3 separate regions of the Homo sapiens genome follow, and regions 1 and 2 are each linked to region 3. The links are contacts of gene promoters, found by promoter capture Hi-C in blood cells and fetal thymus (Javierre and others, 2016). All regions are on one chromosome and are shown on one strand. The core of a region is centred on a gene start or on the middle of the fragment in contact, and the rest is flanking DNA. Distances in the headings are between cores, read along the strand shown. Region 1 overlaps ATF6 (activating transcription factor 6). Region 2 holds the start of TRL-CAG1-6 (tRNA-Leu (anticodon CAG) 1-6). Region 3 holds the start of DUSP12 (dual specificity phosphatase 12).

What was found. The method cuts DNA at HindIII sites, captures the fragments that hold promoters and counts their contacts. A CHiCAGO score of 5 or more calls a contact.
Region 1: a fragment that was not itself captured here is called in contact with the fragment with the promoter of DUSP12 in region 3 in 1 of 17 cell types (activated CD4 T cells); the score reaches 5.2 in activated CD4 T cells.
Region 2: a contact is called between a fragment that was not itself captured here and the fragment with the promoter of DUSP12 in region 3, in 16 of 17 cell types (naive CD4 T cells, total CD8 T cells, total CD4 T cells and 13 more). The highest score is 17.7, in naive CD4 T cells.

What each region holds. Positions count from the first base shown.
Region 1 is chr1:161,961,433-161,964,256 of GRCh38, reverse strand. ATF6 (activating transcription factor 6) reads right to left here. Exons shown (of 16, transcript NM_007348.4): 16 at 187-2,824. Among named protein-coding and RNA genes, the nearest start is that of OLFML2B, 61 kb to the left of the region's middle. The HindIII fragment of the contact is 727 bases long and covers 1,039-1,765 here.
Region 2 is chr1:161,528,677-161,531,713 of GRCh38, reverse strand. TRL-CAG1-6 (tRNA-Leu (anticodon CAG) 1-6) reads left to right here and starts at 1,290; the gene lies at 1,290-1,372. It overlaps TRG-TCC2-6 (tRNA-Gly (anticodon TCC) 2-6), which reads right to left and starts at 601; the gene lies at 530-601. RefSeq lists a silencer at 577-636. The HindIII fragment of the contact is 5,205 bases long and covers 1-3,037 here.
Region 3 is chr1:161,748,043-161,751,193 of GRCh38, reverse strand. DUSP12 (dual specificity phosphatase 12) reads right to left here and starts at 1,408. Exons shown (of 6, transcript NM_007240.3): 1 at 1,049-1,408. The coding sequence starts at 1,392. RefSeq lists enhancers at 392-1,038, 1,100-1,609. The HindIII fragment of the contact is 617 bases long and covers 1,013-1,629 here.

The DNA.
Region 1 (2,824 bases), core at 153-2,652, 210 kb before region 3:
TTAAATAAAGGAAATTTTTACTTAATTAGGCTTGGGAGAAGAGTGGAAAATAGTTCAACAGTTTCATCTGAACAGTAACACAAGCCACAAAGCCTTTTCAGGCTTCCTTTCCCATTACTAACCCCCCAACACTGAAGATTCATTTGGGGGCTTTTTTCTCTCTTTCTACATACAGAATAAACAAGGTAAGTTTAAAAATTCTTTATTTGAATTTTAGAGAAATAACAGGTAGTATAAAGACTTGCTTGAAAGTATGAAATAGTCTGTTGTTATTATTTCTTTAGGTTTTGCAAACCAACATCATTATTAAGGGAGAGAATGGTACATCTCTCCTCCTCATCTTTAACACGTTCTTCAATTGGCATGGGTACAACCTGAGCAAAAAGATCCTGGTGAAATGGCATCTCTAACACTCCCCCCTCAGTTCTAATGGCTCCATGGATGAAGCCCTACTGGACTTAGACCATCCATACTTGCCAAAGTGGTAACAGGAAACCAGTGCCTCTAAGGCTAGTAGTGCATAGTAGTTTTCATCTAAAGCTCTGTTTCCCCATCATCTCCTCTGTCCTGGTGACTGGCCTGGAAATTATGGCAAGGATGAGTTAAAATGGATCAATATACAATTGCTGTGAAAGTCAACCTACTAATCTCTAGCTGGGATTAACATAAAGGGGATATGCCAAGCCTCCTGGTTTATTCAACTTCATTGAGAGCAAACAGCACAATAGTGTTGTTTGTTGGCCTTGGCAAATGATAAATTATGATTTATTTACTCCTTAGTTACCAAACCTAATATAATTAAAAGTATTTTAGTGTGCTAAATCCCTAATGCTTAAAGTTAGCAAACCAATATGTTGAGAATGGCACCCACTATGTGACAGTGGCTGGCCATGACATGGATTCATGCGTAAGATCAAATTTTCTAATCAGATACCTTTGTCATTCTTCTTTTCATAAATTCTATTGCATCTAATAACACACATATTAGAACAAATGGCCGAAAGTTCTAGTCTTACCCAAAATAAACTGTTTAAAGCTTAGTCATTAAAAAGATAAGAACAGAACACACTTTACTTTCTTTTTTTTAGGTAGGAGAAAACTGCATTTCTTTTACGAGCATAGTTCCTTTTGGATTCTGGCAACATCTTTTTGGGTAGTCTAGTATTGTTTCCTAGGAAATTAAAAATCAATCCCAATCCCTGTGGGTGGAAGAAAATGGGAATATTCACTTCCAAATGTTATTAGGGGTGGGAACGAACATTTCTTATATTTCATTCTCTTTTAGGCTTTATTCTTGTTTCTAAAAGTTATAATTGGTATTCATATTAGCAGCAACAATCCTAATTTCTGTAAGTTAAAATGACTCAGGACTGATGAAAATAACATTTGTGGTAAGGAATATGGAGTCCACAGGTGGTAATAAGTGTCTATCAATTTTGGCAATTCACAATCTTATTTAAGAGGTTAATTGGTATGAAATAGCCAATAGTATGAAAAGATCTCAGTCGGCTGAAGGAAGCTGAGTCAGCCCATCAGTATGCAGTGGAAAGAGGGCTTTCATGGCTGGAAAATTTCCCATGACTTCAGAGTGAAAGGGGGCATCAGATCAGGCTCTAACTCTTCAGGCTGTGAAAGCAAAAGTGGTTACTTCTAATATGTTGTTGAAAGTGAAAGTCACTTTGAAACTTTGCAATGTGTTAGAAAGTCAAATACAATTATAAGTTTTTCCTGTAATACATTTCTGTCAAGTTTCACAACCTAAGCTTGGTAAAATGGCAAGAATCAAAAAATAGTAGGAAAGTGGCAAAGAGCTTGAGAGTTTTCCAGTTTTAACGATGCTAAATGCCACCACGGCAGTCTCACCAGCATCTCGCTGCGGTGACTACCGGGGAATACACACAGGGGAGGAAGGTTCAGGCTAAGATTTAGTCAGGATGATGTCTCTTTAAAAATGATTTGAAAAATCAATTTGAATCCCAAGTTCCTTTTCTGTTTCTAAACTTACTTGGAACACTTAAGAATGACTCACATAACATTGCTTTCAAATACCTCCGTGTCAACTTCTTACTGGCAAGAAATGGCAAAGAAATGCCAGTTTTGTGCTGGAACTTGTAGTCATTAAAAAAAAAAATTAGATGATGCTCTGAGTTTTATAATCGTGAGGGATTTTTTACTTGTGAAAACACAAATCCCACCCAAAACTCCATGTGAAGTTTCTGTACTACAAGCATGGCAAACAGCAGATTTGTTTCAAGGATGATCCTTTCACATTAACTCCTAACTTTGGAGTTAGTTTACACTAACACTCTAATGAAGCTGTGTCCCTGTACTGCTGGGCATAAGTCAACCCCAAAGGGACAAGCTCCTAACATCTGATTCAGTAGTTAACATGAGGAAACATCCACTTACTTCCATTAACCCTTAAAAATTTGGGACTTGCAACCAGGCAGAAAGACTATTCCCATCAGTCTCTACCATCACTTCCCAAGAGTGTATTATTGTCAGCCCCAAGAGCACAAAATCATCTAATAACAGGAGGACCTGCCTCCTCCATGAGTTTATCTAATTGTCTCATAAGCTTGCACAATCCTGTTTAAAATTTAATAAATAAAAAAATACACACATTACCCACAATTTCTGGCTGCAACCCCCAAAAGGCAATCCCACCAAAAAAAAAAAAAAAAATTAATCTGGCATGGCAACTTCTCATTTCCTAAAGGGCCTTGTGCATACAAACATTAAAATAAAAACTACAATTGTGCCTAGGGATTAATTATAGCTTTGCCAGCAATTTAAAAAGTGACTACTTCTTTGCATTTGTCAA
Region 2 (3,037 bases), core at 288-2,787, 220 kb after region 3:
CAATTGAAAAAGTAGATTCAATAGCCACGTTGTTTCAAATGCACTGAAACCTTCTCCAATGGTTGAGTTATTAAGTATCCATTTTAAAATTTTCACTTATTAATTTTATTTCAATTGATTTATTTACTAAGACTAAATTTGAAAATGCAGTTTCTTAGAGAAACTAGCCAAGTTCACGTGCTCAATAGTGCGTGGCTAGCGAATGAACCTCGCAAGTGAAGACACAAGAGCCCCTTTCTGAAGCTAAGACTCATCCCAGGATTGAAATGATCCCAAAGATTCCTCAAGAGTTGGAAGTTTACAAAGGAAGGAAGGGAGGAAAGAACCATCAGAATTTAATCCCTTCAAAAAACGCCTGGGTTTAGAAAGAGGCCAGGGGAAAGACAGGAAGCGAGTACGGAAAGTGAGGTATTGCTGCAGTTTCGTTGAAGCGTAAAACGGATACTTCGTTGAGGCGTAAAACGGATACACAGCGCGTTATAGGTTCTGACTGAGAAAGGTTTTTCGTAGAAGGAAAGACAAAAACCCTTGCGTTGGCCGGGAATCGAACCCGGGTCAACTGCTTGGAAGGCAGCTATGCTCACCACTATACCACCAACGCGTACCCGGTTTGGAGTTTTAGATATCTATATATAAGATAAGCAAAGCGTATGACTTTCCCGACCGTTCTAGCAGTGTCTTTTGTTTATGATCCTGAGGTTAAACAAGCTAAGCCCTCCATTGGTGAGAACCGATTCTTATGAATCAGCCCCGCCCCGCAAACGGCGCGGGGCGGTGAACGCAGAAGCCACCGGCTCTGGAAGCTGGAGGGCGGAGCCGGCTCACAGCCGAGAGAGAAAGCCGCAGTTGAGCATCGCCGGGGGATTTTCCTCCGCCGTCTTCTCTTCCACCCCGCTCTCTTCATGTCCCGTAGCTCCCAGCTCCGCAGCTGTTCGAGACTCCGCACTGGATCCGCCGGGTGTCGGATTCAGCAACAGTGATTGGTGCGGAGGATCCGAGGGAGACGGGCCGACACAGGGTCTACCTTGACATGGCTCGACCCCTCTACAGAAGCAGAGGGGCGCTCGAAGAGTCGCCAGGGAAAATGGAGCCTTAAGGATTAGTTTGGGTAGTGAGGAAAGAGGAAAGAGCTGTCGGAGCCTGTTTCATTTTTCCCGCTTTGCGACAAGGTCTAGAGAGAGTTACAATTTTATTTGAAACAGTAAATAGACACATTAATGTGACCTGATAGCGTGCACCATCAGTATATGATAAAATTAGGAGAAATTAGGAAGCATGGTAAAACATGTGTCAGGATGGCCGAGCGGTCTAAGGCGCTGCGTTCAGGTCGCAGTCTCCCCTGGAGGCGTGGGTTCGAATCCCACTCCTGACAATATGTGTTTTCCGTCCTTACTTTTCCTCCTGATTTGAACCAACCAGCAATTATGTTTGAATTCTTAGAGAAAGACTTTTCGATCGGTCAACACTGCCTTTTATCCTAGGTATCTACATTTACGAAAATTATTTGTGCTTCTCTGCACATATAGAACTATATCTATTTTTCCTGTATTGTAGGCTGGAGTCTGGTCTATGAAATCAGGGAGCAGTTGAGACTAAGATTAACTTTGGACTCCAACTTCCCAGTGTCAATTTATCCATTCTTTTATTCAACAACAATGTGTTGAGCCCTTTCTGTGCGTCAAGCACACTAAGGCAGGCAGATACCATCTCCTTTGACTAAACAAGAGAACGCCCTCAACTCAGGATCCTTTAATTTGCTCTACAGTCTTAGCTGGGTTTTTTTTTTTAACGCTAACGCAGTAGTGTCAAACTTTGGTAAGGATCAGGTTCTCCCACCGCCTTGCCCCGCTCCCCAGCCTTTTTTTTTTTTTTTTTTTTTTTAGACAGGGTCTCACTCTGTACCCCAGGCTGAAGCACAGTGGCTCAATCTTGGCTCACTGCAGCCTCCGTCTTCCCGGTCCACGCGGTTCTCGTGCCTCAGCCTCCCAAGTACCCGGGGTTCGCGCCTGTAGTCCCAGCTACTCCGGGAGCCTGAGGCGAATCTCTTGAGCCCAGGGGGCAGAGGTTTTTGTGAGCCGAGATCGGCTGACTCCAGGCTGCACTCCAGCCTGGCGTACAGAGTGAGACCCTGTGTCCAAAAAAAAAAAAAGTAACATGAATAAAATCTACAGTTAGTCATTAATGTTATACCAATGCCAATTTCTTAGGTTTGATAAATATAACATGGTTATGTAAGGTTTTAACATTAGGGGAAGTAGAAAGGATATAGAGTAATGACTTTATGTAGTATCTTTGCAACTTGTCTGTTCATCTAAAATTATTGCAAAATCAAAAATTCTTTTAAAAAACCAACAACTTGAAAGTGGTTGCCTGTGAGGAGTAGGACCTGGGAAGGGGGCAAGAAACTGCTTGTACCAAGAATTGATTTTTTTAATAATGGGCATGTGTTCTGATTTAATTTGTTCAAACTTTTTTCCCCCCCTTTGGAACTGGGTGACATAGTTGTGATTACAATAATCAAACTAAGACTACATACAATATAAGGATTTTTAGATACCTAGTATACAAGAAACAGTCCCCAAAGAAACTAAACCAAAATGATCAACAGACGTTTAAAAGTAAATAAAGTTTGTTTATATTTCTCTATAGAAAAATAGATTGCACTCAAATGGGAGGATCTGAGATGTCACAACTAAACACGATAAAAATCTTTCTTCTTATATTCTGTGTGTGTTGGGTTTTTTAAAAGGATAAAAGGCATACTATCAAAATACTAAGAAACTATAAAAAAGTGAGTACTATCAATCCTCTTGAGAAGTTCAAACAGGTTGAGGGGGGTCAATGTTGAGAATTGAGATGAGATTCAGGAAAGGAAGAATGTAATGCAGGATGTACGTGTTACTCCATCTCTCTCTCTCTTTTTTTTTTTTTTCAGGTTCCTTCCATGTGAAGCCAGGCTGCGTAAGACTTGGGCCAGGGCCAGGAAAAGAGGGCAGTTAAAAATGTGAAATGACAGCCAGGGACAAGTGAGTTGTTA
Region 3 (3,151 bases), core at 159-2,658:
TTGAGACTGCAGTGAGCCGTAATTACGCTACTACACTGTAGCCTGGGTGACAGAGCAAGACCCTATATCAAAATAAAAATAAATAAAACAAAACAAAAACAAATCCAATCTCCTTTCATCTTAGCATTCAGGGACCTCAAAATCTGGTCCCAGACTTCTTTTGATTTCATCACTATCTTCTTTTATGTGCTCAATAAATTTAAACGATTATTATACTCCAATCCAACCAAGAACTGCTTAGGGATTCCCATTTTCTTTTTTTGGGGGGAGGGATGGAGTCTCGCTCTGTTGCCCAGGCTGGAGTGCTGTGGCATGACCTCGGCTCACTGCAACCTCCGCCTCCCAGGTTCAAGTGATTCTCCTGCCTCAGCCTCCCGAGTAGCTGGGACTACAGGCGAGAGCCACCACGCCCGGCTAATTTTTGTATTTTTGGTTTCACCATATTAGCCAGCCTGATCTCGAACTCCTCACCTTGTGATCCTCCTGCCTCCCAAAGTGCTGGGATTACAGGCGTGAGCCACCGCGCCCTGCGGGATTCCCATTTTCTTTTTGTCTTTGCTGCAACCATCTCCTCCCTAGGCAAAGCCCAGGGATCCTTTAGATCCAAACCAATTCATCTCTTCATCAACCACCCGCCACCCATCCCAAACAAAAACATTTAACCCTAAATCTTTGTAAATCCCGTTTACAAGACACCAAGCAACCTAATCTGCATTACAATAATCGGGGTGGGTGTCTAGCTTCTCCAACAGAGCTGTAAACTCCTTAGGGTGTAGGTAATTTGTCATTTATCAGATGACACCTCCCCCGCCCTCTGCTGCTGCAGGAAGAACCAACTAAAGCATGAATGAATGAAAGCCTGCACACACCAGGGGCCCGCCTCAACCCTCCTCCTCTCTTGGAAACACGCCTCCTGCGGGAGGCAGCGGGAGGAGGTTCACGCGGCATGACCGCGCTCTTGTCCTCCCGACGGCCTCGGAAGGTAAGGGGCGACGGGGGCCGGCTGGAAGCTTGGCGGGGCACGTCACCCACTGACCCGGCCACTCACCAGTGCACCAACACCGCACGGCCCTCAGCGCGGGCCTGACCGATGAAGGCCACGCACCGGTCCAGATGGCTGAGTAGGTCCGTCTCGGGTTTGTCCAGCGCTGGCACGAAGAGGCGCCATAGATCCTCGACCCCAGGCCCCGCCTTGAAGCTGGGCTCCTCCGAGTCCACTGTTAGCACGGCCGTGATGCCCGCTTCCCTCAGGTGATCTGGCTCCGCGACGGCCGCGGCCCCACCGAAATACAATCCTGGCTGCACTTCCAGCATCTGCCCGGCACAGCTGACTCTGCTGGCGCTGGGGTTGCTGAGCTCGCAGCCATCACTCGGGCCCGGAGCCTCCAACATGGCCGCGCCCAGAGACAAGGCGGCTTCCTGCCCTACCATCGAGTAGACTCCGGCTAGAACATCCTTCCCCTGGGACTCGCCAGCCTCGGCGGCTCTGCTGCTCCCTCGGAGGACCACGTCGGCCGCAGGAATCTGGACTTATCGCTGAGGGGCGGAGCTTCGGCCCCATTCAGCGCGGCCTTTCCACCCTTGTTCCCTCTGACCCCTACCCCCAAAGTTGATGGTGAAGGATAAGCTTCCCCAAATACAGGGTTTCTCGAGCTCTTAGTATTGAAATTTTCAGGAAAGAGACATCAGGAGCAGCTGAACTCAAATGTGAAATAAATGTCGCACCAGCTGAATCAGAAGCATCATTTTATGCATTTGAAGTAAAATTTTTTTCAATATTATGGAGCCATCTTTACTGTGCATTTCATGATTATTTTTCCTTTTTCTGCCCAATTTCATTATTGGGGTGTGAATCCTTGTTGATGTTTACTGTCTATTTATTTTGAAGATACTAATCCTATATTTTTGTAAGTCAATGTCCTCCGGCCAGGACTACAAGAAACCAACTTTAATTAAGCAAGTTGGTTTTATTACTCAGTCATGAGTTATGGAGAATTTCAGGGCATCTCAGCACGAGGATGTTAGGAAGATCCTCTACAGATTTTGGGCTTTTATTTGGGGATTTTGGAAAGGGTTGAAGGAAGCAGGCTTTGCTCCAGACTGAATGCTGCAGGAAGATACTCAGTACAGTGAGTATATTTTATATATCTTTTGTATAGGGAGGACAGGTGAGAGAGATACTAAAGCTGTAATTGGTCAAGAAGTAGCAGCTATAGTACTGGTATAAAGATAGATACATCGACGTGTCTCTATTCTGGAACAGAACAAACCCTTGCGTGTGGAGTCCTAATTAGGGAAAAGGAGTCAGGCTGGCTGGACGAAGGGAAGCAAAAGGAGAAAGCAGACAAGCCATAAGTCTGCCTTTCTTCGTGGTCCAGGACACATAGCCCTGCTGTGCAAATAACTCACAATCTGCCTGTGCCCAGCCATCACCAGACCCTCAGCTGATAGAAAAATGGAAGTTAGTTCACTGCAACCCTGGCATTATTAGTACTGCACAAAGCCCTCTTCCACCCACAACATAAGCACCATTCTACAAAATCCCCAGCAAGCCTTTGTTTCCTAGCAGTCAGCTTCTCTCTTGCTGACCTGCCTGTTGCACCCTTGCAATGTATTTTCATACTTTATCTAATAAACCTGCCTTTCTTTACCTACAACTGTGTTGGTAAATTCTTCCTACCACCCATGTCACCAGCCCAGAAAGCTGCTAATCACCTGCAACACTGCATATATGTTAGAATAATCTTCAAAAAGAGTGCCAAGACCACACAATGGAAAAAGGACAATCTCCTCAACAGTGTTGGGAAAAACTAGATATCCACATGCAAAAGAATGAAGATGGACCTTTACCTTGGACCATACACAAAAAATAACTCCAAATAGATTAAAGACCTAAAAATATAACATTCTTAGTAGAAAACATAGGGGGAAAGCTTCATGGCCTTGGATTTGATAAAAATGTTGAAACAGGTAAGGGTTAATGGTCTCATTGTCTAAGGTGTTATCCGAACTTGTCTAACGACCGAGAAAACTAAGGAGCATGGGCACAAAGAGTGAGGTTGAAGCAAAAGTTTAATAAGCAAAAGAAGAAAGCTCTCCACAGCAGAGAGGGGAGCCCAAGTGGGGTGCCATTTTTACAGCTGAATTCAAA